Regions from separate parts of the Homo sapiens genome. Here region 1 is linked to region 2. The links are contacts of gene promoters, found by promoter capture Hi-C in blood cells and fetal thymus (Javierre and others, 2016). All regions are on one chromosome and are shown on one strand. Each heading gives the region's core, a stretch centred on a gene start or on the middle of the fragment in contact. The rest is flanking DNA. Distances are from core to core; before and after follow the strand shown.

Region 1 (6,207 bases), core at 2,013-4,512, 1.3 Mb after region 2:
TGGTCTGAGGGACAGTTTCTTATAATTTCTATTCTTTTACATTTGCTGAGGAGTGCTTTACTTCCAACTATGTGGTCAGTTTTGGAATAAGTGTGTTGTGGTGCTGAGAAGAATGTATATTCTGTTGATTTGAGGTGGAGAGTTCTGTAGATGTCTATTAGGTCCACTTGTTGCAGAGCTGAGTTCAATTCCTGGATATCCTTGTTAACTTTCTGTCTCATTGATCTGTCTAATGTTGACAGTGGGGTGTTTAAGTCTTCTATTATTATTGTGTGGGAATCTAAGTCTCTTTGTATGTCTCTAAGACTTGCTTTATGAATCTGGGTGCTCCTGTATTGGATGCATATACATTTAACACAGTTAGCTTTTCTTGTTGAATTGATTCCTTTACCATTATGTAACGGTCTTCTTTGTCTGTTTTGATCTTTGTTTATTTTGAACTTTAAAGTCTGTTTTATTATAGACCAGGATTGCAACCCCTGCCTTTTTTTGTTTTCCATTTGCTTGGTAGATCTTCCTCCATCCCTTTATTTTGAGCCTATGTGTGTCCCTGCACGTGAGATGGGTCTCTTGAATACAGCACACTTATGGGTCTTGACTCTTTATCCAATTTGCCAGTCTGTGTCTTTTAATTGGAGAATTTAGCCCATTTACATTTAAGGTTAATATTGTTATGTGTGAATTTGATCCTGTCATTATGATGTTGGCTGGTTATTTTGCTAATTAGTTGATGCAGTTTTTTCCTAACATCAATGGTCTTTATGATTTGGTATGTTTTTGCAGTGGCTGGTACTGGTTGTTCCTTTCCATGTTTAGTGCTTCCTTCAGGAGCTCCTGTAGGGCAGGCCTGGTGGTGACAAAATCTCTCAGCATTTGCTTGTCTGTAAAGGATTTTATTTCTCCTTCACTTATGAAGCTTAGTTTGGCTGGATATGAAATACTGGATTGAAAATTCTTTTCTTTAAGAAAGTTGAATATTCACCCCCACTCTCTTCTGGCCTGTAGAGTTTCTGCCAAGAGATCCGCTGTTAGTCTGATGGGCTTCCCTTTGTGGGTAACCCGACCTTCCTCTCTGGCTGCCCTTAACATTTTTTCCTTCATTTCAACTTTGGTGAATCTGACAATTACGTATCTTATAGTTGCTCTTATTGAGGAGTATCTTTGTGGTGTTCTCTGTATTTCCTGAATTTGAATGTTGGCCTGCCTTGCTAGGTTGGGGAAGTTCTCCTGGATAATATCCTGCAGAGTGTTTTCCAACTTGGTTCCATTCTTCCTGTCACTTTCAGGTACACCAATCAGACATAGATTTGGTCTTTTCACATAGTCCCATATTTCTTGGAGGCTTTGTTCATTTCTTTTTATTCTTTTTTTCTGTAAACTTCTCTTCTCACTTCATTTCATTCATTTTATCTTCAATCACTGATACCTTTTCTTCCAGTTGATCGAATCAGTTACTGAAGCTTGTGCATTCATCACATAGTTCTCATGCCATGGTTTTCAGCTCCATCTAGTCATTTGAGGACTTCTCTACTCTGGTTATTCTAGTTAGCCAATTGTCTAATCTTTTTTCAAGGTTTTTAGCTTCTTTGTGCTTGGATTTGAACTTCATCCTTTATCTCGGAGAAGTGTGATCATCTGAAGCCTTCTCTCAACTTGTCAAAGTGATTCTCTGTCCAGCATTTTTCCATTGCTGATGAGGAGCTGTGTTCCTTTTGAGGGGAGAGGCACTCTGATTTTTAGAATTTTCAGCTTTTCTGCTCTGTTTTTTCTCCATATTTGTGGTTTTATCTACATTTGGTCTTTGATTATGGTGACATACAGATGGGATTTTGGTGTGGATGTCCTTTCTGTTTGTTAGTTTTCCTTCTAACAGTCAGGACCCTCAGCTGCAGGTCTGTTGCTGTTTGCTGGAGGTCCACTCCAGACACTGTTTGCCTCAGTATCAGTAGTGGAGGCTGCAGAACAGCAAATATTGCTGAACAGCAAATGTTGCTGCCTGATCGTTCCTCTGCAAGCTTCATCTCAGAGGGGTACTGGGCCATGTGAGGTGTCTGTCTGCCCCTACTGCAGGATGCCTCCCAGTTAGGCTACTTGGGGTTCAGGGACCCACTTGAGGAGGCAGTCTGTCCGTTCTCAGATCTCAAACTCCGTGCTGGGAGTACCAATACTCTCTTCAAAGCTATCAGACAGGCAGATTTAAGTCTGCAGAGGTTTCTGCTGCCTTTTGTTCAGCTATGCCCTGCCCGCAGAGGTGGAGTCTAGAGAGGCAGGCAGGCCTCCTTGAGCTGCGGTGGGCTCCACCCAGTTCAAGCTTCCCAGTGGCTTTGTTTACCTACTCAAGCCTCAGCAATGGCATGCACACCTCCCCCAACCTCACTGCCACCTTGCCGTTCGATCTCAGACTGCTGTGCTAGCTATGAGTGAGGCTCCGTGGGCATGGGACCCTCCAAGCCAGGCACGGGATATAATCTCCTGGTGTGCCGTTTGCTAAGACTGTTGGAAAAGTGCAGTATTAAGGTTGGAGTGACCCAATTTTCCAGGTGCCATCTGTCACACCTTCCCTTGGCTAGGAAATGGAACTCCCTGACCCCTTGCACTTCCTGGGTGAGGTGATGCCTCACCCTGCTTTGGCTTATGCTCATTGGGTTGCACCCACTGTCCTGCACCCACTGTCCAACAAACCTCAGTGAGATGAACCTGGTACCTCAATTGGAAATGCAGAAATCACCCATCTTCTGTGTCACTCCTGCTGGGAGCTGTAGACTGGAGCTGTTCCTATTCGGCCATCTTGGAACCTCCTCCTATATTGGGATTTATCTCTGAGATGCAAGGAATGTGCAACATACAAAAATTGTCAATGTCGAGGGTTGTTGAACATAATGGTGGAGTAAAAGGCTGCGCTGAATGTCCTCACTGCAAAGAAACAAATTTGACAACTATCTACACACACACACACACACACACACACAACCTTCATAAAAACTAAGTTATTAGGTGAGCTTTCGTAGTACTAAGTTTTAACTTCATATCAATGAAAGAGGTACTAAAGAGGTAGCAAAACAGTCTTGAATTGCAAATGCCACATCTCCCTCAAACCCCAGCAGCAGTGGCATGGTGTAGAAAGGACTTCTGGACACTTTAGGAGAGAGAGATCAGCAATTTTGATGTGTTTAACTCAGTGCTGTGCTGTTAGAGCAAAAATGAAAACAGGATCAAACTCAGCTGACACCCACCCACAGAAGGAGCATATAAACAAGCCCTAACTAGAAAGAAATTACCAGATCCAGTGGTTAGAGCTTGAGTTTCGGAAAGCCTCACCACCGAGGGATAAAATACTCTGGGTCTCTAAGAAACCTGAAAGGCAGTCTAGACCATAGTTACTTCAACTCTTAGGTGAGCCCCATGGTTGAACTGAGCCCAGATACAGTGAACAAGGAGAGGGGTTACACAACCTAGTGGGGCACCAGCTGTGGCAGCTAAGAAAGTGATGGAAGTACCCTTTCCCTAGCCCCAGACGGCATAGCTTGTGGCTTCAAAAGAGATCTCTTCTTTTCACTTGAGGAGAGGAGAGGGAAGAGTGGGGGAGGACTTTGTCTTACATCTTGGATACAATCAGCCACAGCACAATAGTGCACTGGTCAGAGTTGTGAGGTTCTAGGCCCTAGTTCTTGGATTACATTTCTAGACAAATTGTGGCCCAGAGGGAAACCCAAAATCTTGAAGGAAAAACCCCATTTCTGGAAGCATTCATCACTTGCTAACTGAGGAGAACTTGGACCCTGAAAAACTAACAGCAATACATGGGCACTTCATTGAGGACCTTAAGTGAGCCTCTTAGACTTGCTGGTTTTAAGTGAGACTTAGTAGATTCTTAGTTGCTGTGACCATAGGGTAAAACTCTTTCTAATTGAGAAAAGTAGAGAAAAAAGTAAAGGGAACTTTGTCTTACAACTTAGGTACCAGCTTGGCTACAGGGGGTAGAGCACCACGTGGGCTCTTGGGGTATCTGATTCCAGGATTTGGATCTTGTCTGGCATTTCTGGACCTGCCCTGGGCCAGAGGGGAACACATTGCCCTGAAAACTGAATCCCAGGAAAAGCAGCCTTCATCACAAGCTGATATCAAAAGCCCTTGGGGCTTAAGAAAACATTGGCCATTGTCTGGCAGCTCTCCACATGGCCTGTGGTGGTGGTAGCTAAGAAGTGAAGCTTCTCTGCCTTTGGTAAACAGAGGAAAGAATGGGAAGAATTGCATCTTGTGTTTTGAGTGCCAGCTCAGGTTAAGTAAAACAGATCATCAGATAGGACTCTAATATTTTTCACTGTAGACCCTGACTACCAGAGAGCATCTCTGGACCAACTAAAGAAATGGGGGAACTCACTGCCCTGAAGGAAAAGACATAGGCCTGGTTGGCCTTGGCACCTACTGATTGTAGAGGCCCAGGACCTTGAGCAAACATAGAGAGTAGTCAGCAAGTGTTAACAGCATGCCTTGGTCAAGACACAGTGCTGTGCTGGCTTAAGGTCCAACTCAAAATTGTCATAGTGGTGGCGGCCACAGGGATGCTTATGTCATTTTACTCCCAGCTTAAAGTGGTTCAGAACTGAGAGAAAGACTACATTTTGGGGGGAGAAAATAAGGGAAGAGAACAAATATCTCTGCCTGGTAATCCAAATAATTCTCCTGGAACTTGTCCCAAATCATCATGATGGTACCTCTATGAGTCTGTATAACCACAATGTTACTGGACTTGGGTTACTCCCTAAAGCAGATACAGCTTAGATCACAATATTGTAGTCCTTTTGAATATCTGAAAAGTCATCTGAAAAAGGACAGATACAAACAATCCCATGCCATAAACACTATTATAAATACCTAACTCTTCAGTGGCCAGGCACCAAAGAACATCTACTAGCAGCATTGATACAGGAGATAGAAAGACATTATTTAGGCAGATAGTGAGGGCAAATGAGTATTCAGCAGAACTTCCCTTCTAGCTAAAAGCAGCTCAGAAAAATTTTTTTTTTCTAACAACAAAGAACAGCCTGAAAGATCGAGCTGCAAACATATATAAGAAAGCTGGAAGTTTACATGAGGAAATGCTGGCAGCTGTGCCATTAGAAAAGGGCTACCTGGAGGCCAGGCATGTCCACCATGGAAGTTTCACCTTCCTTTTTTTTGTTAGCACATGTACAATAAGAAGGAAATGGGAAACATGGAGAAGCTCAGGCAGAGAACCCAATTGCATAATAAAATATTGGCGTGAGGACTGCCAGAGATTCCCACCCTATGCAGATGGCACATCTGATTATGACCAGTTTTTCACACCCTGTGTAGATAAGACACCACCACCCCACTGGCTCATCTATAAAACAGCCTGCATTTAACAGTGGATCAGCAGCTCATTTTTCCAGGACCCCTCTCTGTAGTAGATAGCTATTATCTTCATTTTGTCTATTAAATTTCTGTTCTTAACCTCACTCTTTGTGTGTTTGCATCCTTGATCTTGTGGCCGTGAGACAATGAACCTCAGAAAAGAGATGAAATCCCCTCTGGGCCATGGTTTGTCTATAAATGTCACCCCAAATAATTAGGCAACTTCCTTGTGGGGGATTGCCAAGGACCCAATTTAGGTTCATTGAAAGAGTGAATATAGGAGCCGGGCCCAACTCTCTACTTTTACTTCCAGGGTCTCCTCTCCTCAATTTTAAAATCAAGCAAAAAATGAAAACAAAAAGCAAAAAACAAAAAAACAGGTATCAGTCAGCCACCTAGATGTGGTTAGTGCAGCTGTTGGTCTAAAGAAATAGATGGCAGGCTTGCTGGGGAGAACATAGCTTATTCCCCAGAACCCTCAGGGTGCTGTGAATGTTGGCTTTGTTTTGAACCAGTTTTCCTTCACAGAGAGCCTAGCCATTGCATAGGTCTGGAAGAGGTCTAGAGGCAAATGACAGTTTCTGGCCGGGGCCACACCCCAGTGTTAAGTGAAGGCTTCTGGACCAACTCGAGCTCCTCACAGCTCATTGGGCTTTGGCAACAGGATCTCCAAGCTTCACAATAAGATCTCTGAGCTTTTACTACTGCAATTTCCTTCTTTTATTTCAGTGACTGTGTCTCCTATCCCCTCTCTGTATGCAATGCTGTGGGAATTTTTACAGTTCAGAGAAATAATTCTGTTATACAGGATCAACAAATGCCATAGTAACT
Region 2 (5,739 bases), core at 978-3,477:
GATCCTGTCCTCAAGTAACTTCCAGTCTAGAGGATTACACATGTAGATAAAAATCAGTATCGTACAAGGAAGCAGAATTAGCTAAGGACTTAGTTTTTGAGCAGAATGATAAAGTTTGCTGTTAGTATTATACCAGTAGAAAGAGAAGAACAAAAGTTTTCAAACGGCCCCTGGAAGAACTAAAAAGGAGGGCTTGGGAAACAGCCGAGACTGGAAAAAGCTTGTTTCTAGCTGTTTTTTTTTTTCTTCCTGTCCAATTTAAGGGGCAGGTTCTTATCGTTTTAAAGAGCCTCCAAAGGTACTTACATATATAATGAAAAGCTAGGGAGCCTGAGGCAGGAGAATCACTTGAACCTAGGAGACGGAGATTGCAGTGAACCAAGATTGAGCCACTGCACTCCAGCCTGGGCAACAAGAGCGAAACTTTGTCTCAAAAAAAAAAAAAAGAAACTGCAATGTTGCCCATTCACTAGCAATGAATATTTCTACATGGTACAATGGGTTACTTCATGATAGTTATTAGACCATTATCAGATCTTCTAACTGTCTTACATAGCTTTCCCTTTTCATCTTTTAGTCACACCGGGATAGGCAAATTTACAAATATTTCATAATATATTCTGCTCCAGAAAAGATAAAAAGTGGGCATGTGAATTCCACGCTGAAAAAAAAACAAAAAACCTTTCCTGAGGTACAAGGTGGCCCTATTTGCTCAAAGAGCAAAGAAATTAAGACTACCAAAAAATTCTGCAACATCTCATAACTTCAACACACTCATGTAACTCTGGTGGATTTCATCAGACCTCTCCTCTGTGACAACTGTTTAATTACCACACATTGGTGATCTCATATAATCCTCAACAACCCCATGAAGTAGGCATTATTTACAAATTACTTATTTTACAAAGAAGGAAACTGAGGTTGAGAGAGGCTAAATCATATGCCCAAAGTAAAAGAGATAATAAATGCTACTTTGGGAATATGAAAATAGTCCAGCTAATATTTTGTGGTTATTTTCAAAGTTGCTTAAGAGTTTAGGACACAATCTAATAATATCCTCCAATGATTCTATTAAGTGAAAATCAAAAGATGGCTAAACAAACTAAATAGTAATTACGGGTCACCTTCATTGTGTAACAACTGCCCACGTTACTCAAGGTCACCTTCGGTGCAAATCAAGTATGAAAATTAATTTGTTCTCCTCAATCTATTGCATTTTCTCTACATAATGCTGGTCTCAAAACTCCCTGTACCTGCCCAACCTTTGGATAAGAAAAAAATGACCACGATTGCCTTCAGGACAGCTAACATTGTTTTGTTTTTGTTTTCGAGACGGAGTCCCGCTCTTGTTGCCCAGGCTGGAGTGCAGTAGCAGTCTTGGCTCACTGCAACCTCCGCCTCCCGGGTACAAGCGATTCTCTTGCCTCAGCCTCCCAAGTAGCTGGGATTACAGGCGCCCACCACCACGCCCGGCTAATTTTTGTATTTTTAGTAGGGACGGCGTTTCACTATGTTGGCCAGGCTGGTCTCGAACTCCTGACCTCAGGGGATCCGCCCGCCTTGGCCTCCCAAAGTGCTGGGATTACAAGTGTGAGCCACCGCGCCTGGCCAGCTAACATTGTTAATCCACAAATAACTTCAAAGCTGCATCGATACCATTTGGGTTGTTTCCCTGCAATTAAACCAGGTGAAGAGCTAGATTTACAGTTTCCGTCTATTACAGTAATAGGAATTGGAGAAGATATTTTTCTATACAGGGTTAGGAGTAAACATATCCCCAAAGCTAAAATGTAGGACATCACTTAAGGAACGAGGTGTCTACCAAGAATGTCCTTCCCTGAAATCAAAGGTTACTGAAGAATTAAAAAGCAGGGCTAGACTATCACTCCGATAACAGAAAGAGAGCTGGAAACCGAAACAGAAATACTGGGTGATAAAGCCAATGCTAAGGACATCATCCCAATGACTTGGGACGAGATGGGAGACAGACAGCATTCAAGATTAGAAGGCCGAGATGTTCGTAAAAGGAAAGCACACGAGAGGCCGCGAGGACACATTGATATAAGGTTGTTGTAAATGATTTGTCATAATTTTTGCTCACCTTGGAGACGATTTAGTGCGCTTTTGACCAAGGGAAACATCGTGAAGGTGAAGCTAGAACTGCGGCAATACAGCTGCTGCTTTGGTGCCAATTCGCTTCAGGTACCCTTGAAGTGAGCTGAAAAACAAAATGGCTTTCAGCCGGGATCCGTAATGAGATTTGACGAAATCTCGCGATACCTGTAAAACCTATAGTAATTGCAATCCCTTTTCCCGCGAGGAAAAATAAAGGCCTTTTGGGAAATGTAGTTTCCGGCTTTATAAAATGACGTATGGTGGGTGGTATCTAATGAAGAATGAAAGAACTCCTTGAAGCCAGGTTTAGAGCTCTATAGAGGGCAGCCGAGAGACAGATCTTCGACCGAATCGTCTAAGGAACTAGCTTCAAAATGGCGTTCAAGTTCCACAAGCTTCGGTTTAGTATCTCCACACTAGCTCTTTCTTCTTTCTGTTCCCCCAAAACTTCCTTTACTTCTCTCATTTTTTTTGTCTGCTATTACTACTATACTAATTGGCTTAGCTTTTAGTTTTCAAATAACGTCAAGTTTAGAGAAAAGTTGCAAGAACAGTAAAAACTTCTGTAATATGTAGATAAATACGTGATAAAATAACTTTGGAAAGCTATTGGCCGGGCGCGGTGGCTCACGCCTGTAATCCCAGCACTTTGAGAGGCCAAGGTGGGCGGATCACGAGGTCGGAGTTCGAGACCAGCCTGGCCAAGATGGTGAAACCCCGTCTCTACTAAAAATACAAAAATTAGCCGGCGTGGTGGCGCGCGCCTGTCATCCCAGCTACTCAGGAGGCTGAGGCAGAATAATCACTTGAACCCGGGAGGCGGAGGTTGCAGTGAGCCGAGAACGTGCCACTGGACTCCAGCCTGGGCGACAGAGCGAGACTACGTCTCAAAAAGAAAGAAAGAAAAGAAAGCTGTTAGGCCTGGCGCGGTGGCTCACGCCTGTAATCCCAGCACTTTGGGAGGCCGAGGTGGGCGGATCACGAGGTCAGGAGATCGAGACCATCCTGGCCAACATGGTGAAACCCCATCTCTACTAAAAATACCAACAATTAGCTGGGCGTGGTGGCATGTGCCTGTAATCCCAGCTACTCTGTAGACTGAGGCGGCAGAATCGCTTGAACCAGGGAGTCGGAGGTTGCAGTGAGCCAAGATACCACCACTGCACTCCAGCCTGGTGACAGAGCAAGACTCCGTCTCAAAAAAAAAAAAGAAAAGAAAAGAAAAGAAAAAAAAGAAAGAAAAGAAATGGCAACACGGCAAAACCCCGTCTCTACTAATATACAAAAAATTAGCTGGGCATGGTGGCACATGCTTCTAATCCCAGCTACTCGGGAGGCTGAGGCATGAGACTTGCTTGAACCGGGGAGGCGGAGGTTACAGTGAGCCAAGATCGCACCACTGCACTCTAGCCTGAGACCTGTCCCAAAACAAAAAAAATAAAATACATACAGTTCAGTGGCATTAATGGCATTCACATTGTTGTGCAACTATCACCATTATTCATCTCTAAGACTTTTTCATCGTGTAAAACTAAATGCTTTGATTATACATTTTGACTATTGAAAATATTAACATTATTCCAAAAGTCAAAACTAAACAGACTAGTGTACTTAGAGAAGTGTCATTCCCTCCCCTAACTGTTGCATTCCATTTCCACCAATTCCTATAGGTAACCGATTTCATTACTTTCTGGTTTATCTTGTGTGTTTCCTTTTGCAAAAATAGGCAAATACCTGTATGTTTTCTTATTTCTCTATTTTATACAAATGTAGCATAAAAATCCATTATCATTTTACATAAGTCTTCCTCATTCCTTTTTTACAGCTGCAAAATCTGTGGTGTATATGTGCTATAGTATATTCAGTCAATCTCCTATGTTGGAATATTTAGGTAGTTTCAAGAATATTTCAATTTCAATAATGCTGAAATGAATAACTTTGTGCACACATATTTTCATATTGCTGGATGTCTCTCTCCAAGGTAGGTTACTAGAAGTGGGATTGCTGGATTAAAGGATAAATATATGTGTAGTTTTTTTAGATATTGCCAAATTATAGATGTTGTAACGTTTTGCCTTCCCACCAGCAACGTATTAATATAAAGGGTGCCTGACTCCCCACAGCCTTGCTAATAGCATGTAGTGTCAAGCTTTTGGATTTTTGCCAATATGATAGGTAAGATATCCCTTTTAAACTTTAAAATTTTTATTTTTAAAACATACACATAGTAAAATTCACTTTTTGGTGTACAGTTCTATGCGTTTTGACAAATGCATACAATTGTGTCACCACCACCACAATTAAGGACAGAATAGCTCTAGCATCATAAAAACACCCTTGTTTGACCTCTTTGTGATCAACCCTTTTCCCTACCCCTAGCCCCTGGCAGCCACTAATCTGTTCTCTGTACCAATGAGTTTGCCTTTTCCAGAATGTCATATATAGATTGAATCATACAGTATGTCTCAGTGTACTTTTATTTTGCATTTTTTCTTTTTTCTTTCCTTTTTTTTTTTTTTTGAGATTGAGTTTCGCTCTTGTTGCCCAGGCTGGAGTGTGATAACACGATTTCAGCTCACTGCAAACTCCGCCTCCAGGGTTGAAGCGATTCTTCTGCCTCAGACTCCCATGTAGCTGGGATTACAGGCCTGCGCCACCACACCGGGCTAATTTTTAAATTTTTAGTAGAGACGGGGGTTTTGCCATGTTGGTCAGGCTGGTCTTGAACTCCTGACCTCAGGTGATCCACCCACTTCGACTTCCCAAAGTGCTGAGATTACAGGCATGAGCCATCGCACCCGGCCTGCATTTTCTTAATATAAGTTTCCATAAATGATTTAACTTTTTTTCACATCTGTATTTCACATCTCTTCACTTCGGAACCAGCTATTTTTCTTTCCATCCCATCTCCTTGTCTCTCCAACATACTGAAATTAATTTCCTGGTTTTTTTATCCAGTAGCGCCTAAAATAATAGTCATATAATATTTTCCACACCATCAAAATAAATCCAAATTGTAGGCAGATTGATTTTATCTTGTTGGTGTTTTCCTTCTTTACAACCTTACTTTTGTACCCATCCCCCAAACAAAATAATGAATAAAAAGAAGGAATTTGCTGTCTATAACCTGCAATTAAAGTCCTTGTTGGTGCTTTAAATATTAAGTCAAGGAGTTTAACTGAAAAAACAAACAAAAAAAGCCGGCCGGGCTTGGTGGCTCACGCCTGTAATCCCAGAACTTTGGGAGGCCGAGGCGGGCGGATCACCTGAGGTCAGGAGTTCGAGACCAGCCTGCCCAACATGGCGAAACCCCGTCTCTACTAAAATACAAAAAATTAGCCAGGCGTGATGGCGGGCGCCTGTAATCCCAGCTACTCGGGAGGCTGAGGCAGGAGAATCGCTTGAACCCGGGAGGCGTAGGTTGCAGTGAGCCGAGATGGCGCCACTGCACGCCAGCCTGGGCTACAAGAGCGAAATTCCATCTCAAAAAAAGCCATAAATAAACAAAAACTTTAAAAAATAATCTTTGATGTCCTCTTTTTTCAGCGCTCCTGGCAGTTTCTAGGACACAATAGGTATTCAACAAGCTCTTGTTCATATTTACCTTTAAAAATTTCCCTCAGT

What was found. Contacts are between HindIII fragments. The CHiCAGO score rates a contact against its expected background, and 5 or more counts as called.
Region 1: a contact is called between a fragment that was not itself captured here and the fragment with the promoter of COX7B in region 2, in 1 of 17 cell types (endothelial precursors). The highest score is 5.6, in endothelial precursors.

The regions. Positions count from the first base shown.
Region 1 is chrX:76,556,147-76,562,353 of GRCh38, reverse strand. No RefSeq gene overlaps it. Among named protein-coding and RNA genes, the nearest start is that of MAGEE1, 130 kb to the right of the region's middle. The HindIII fragment of the contact is 1,897 bases long and covers 2,314-4,210 here.
Region 2 is chrX:77,895,956-77,901,694 of GRCh38, reverse strand. It overlaps COX7B (cytochrome c oxidase subunit 7B), which reads right to left and starts at 2,227. Exons shown (of 3, transcript NM_001866.3): 1 at 2,102-2,227. The coding sequence starts at 2,141. RefSeq lists an enhancer at 2,024-2,273. The HindIII fragment of the contact is 2,290 bases long and covers 223-2,512 here.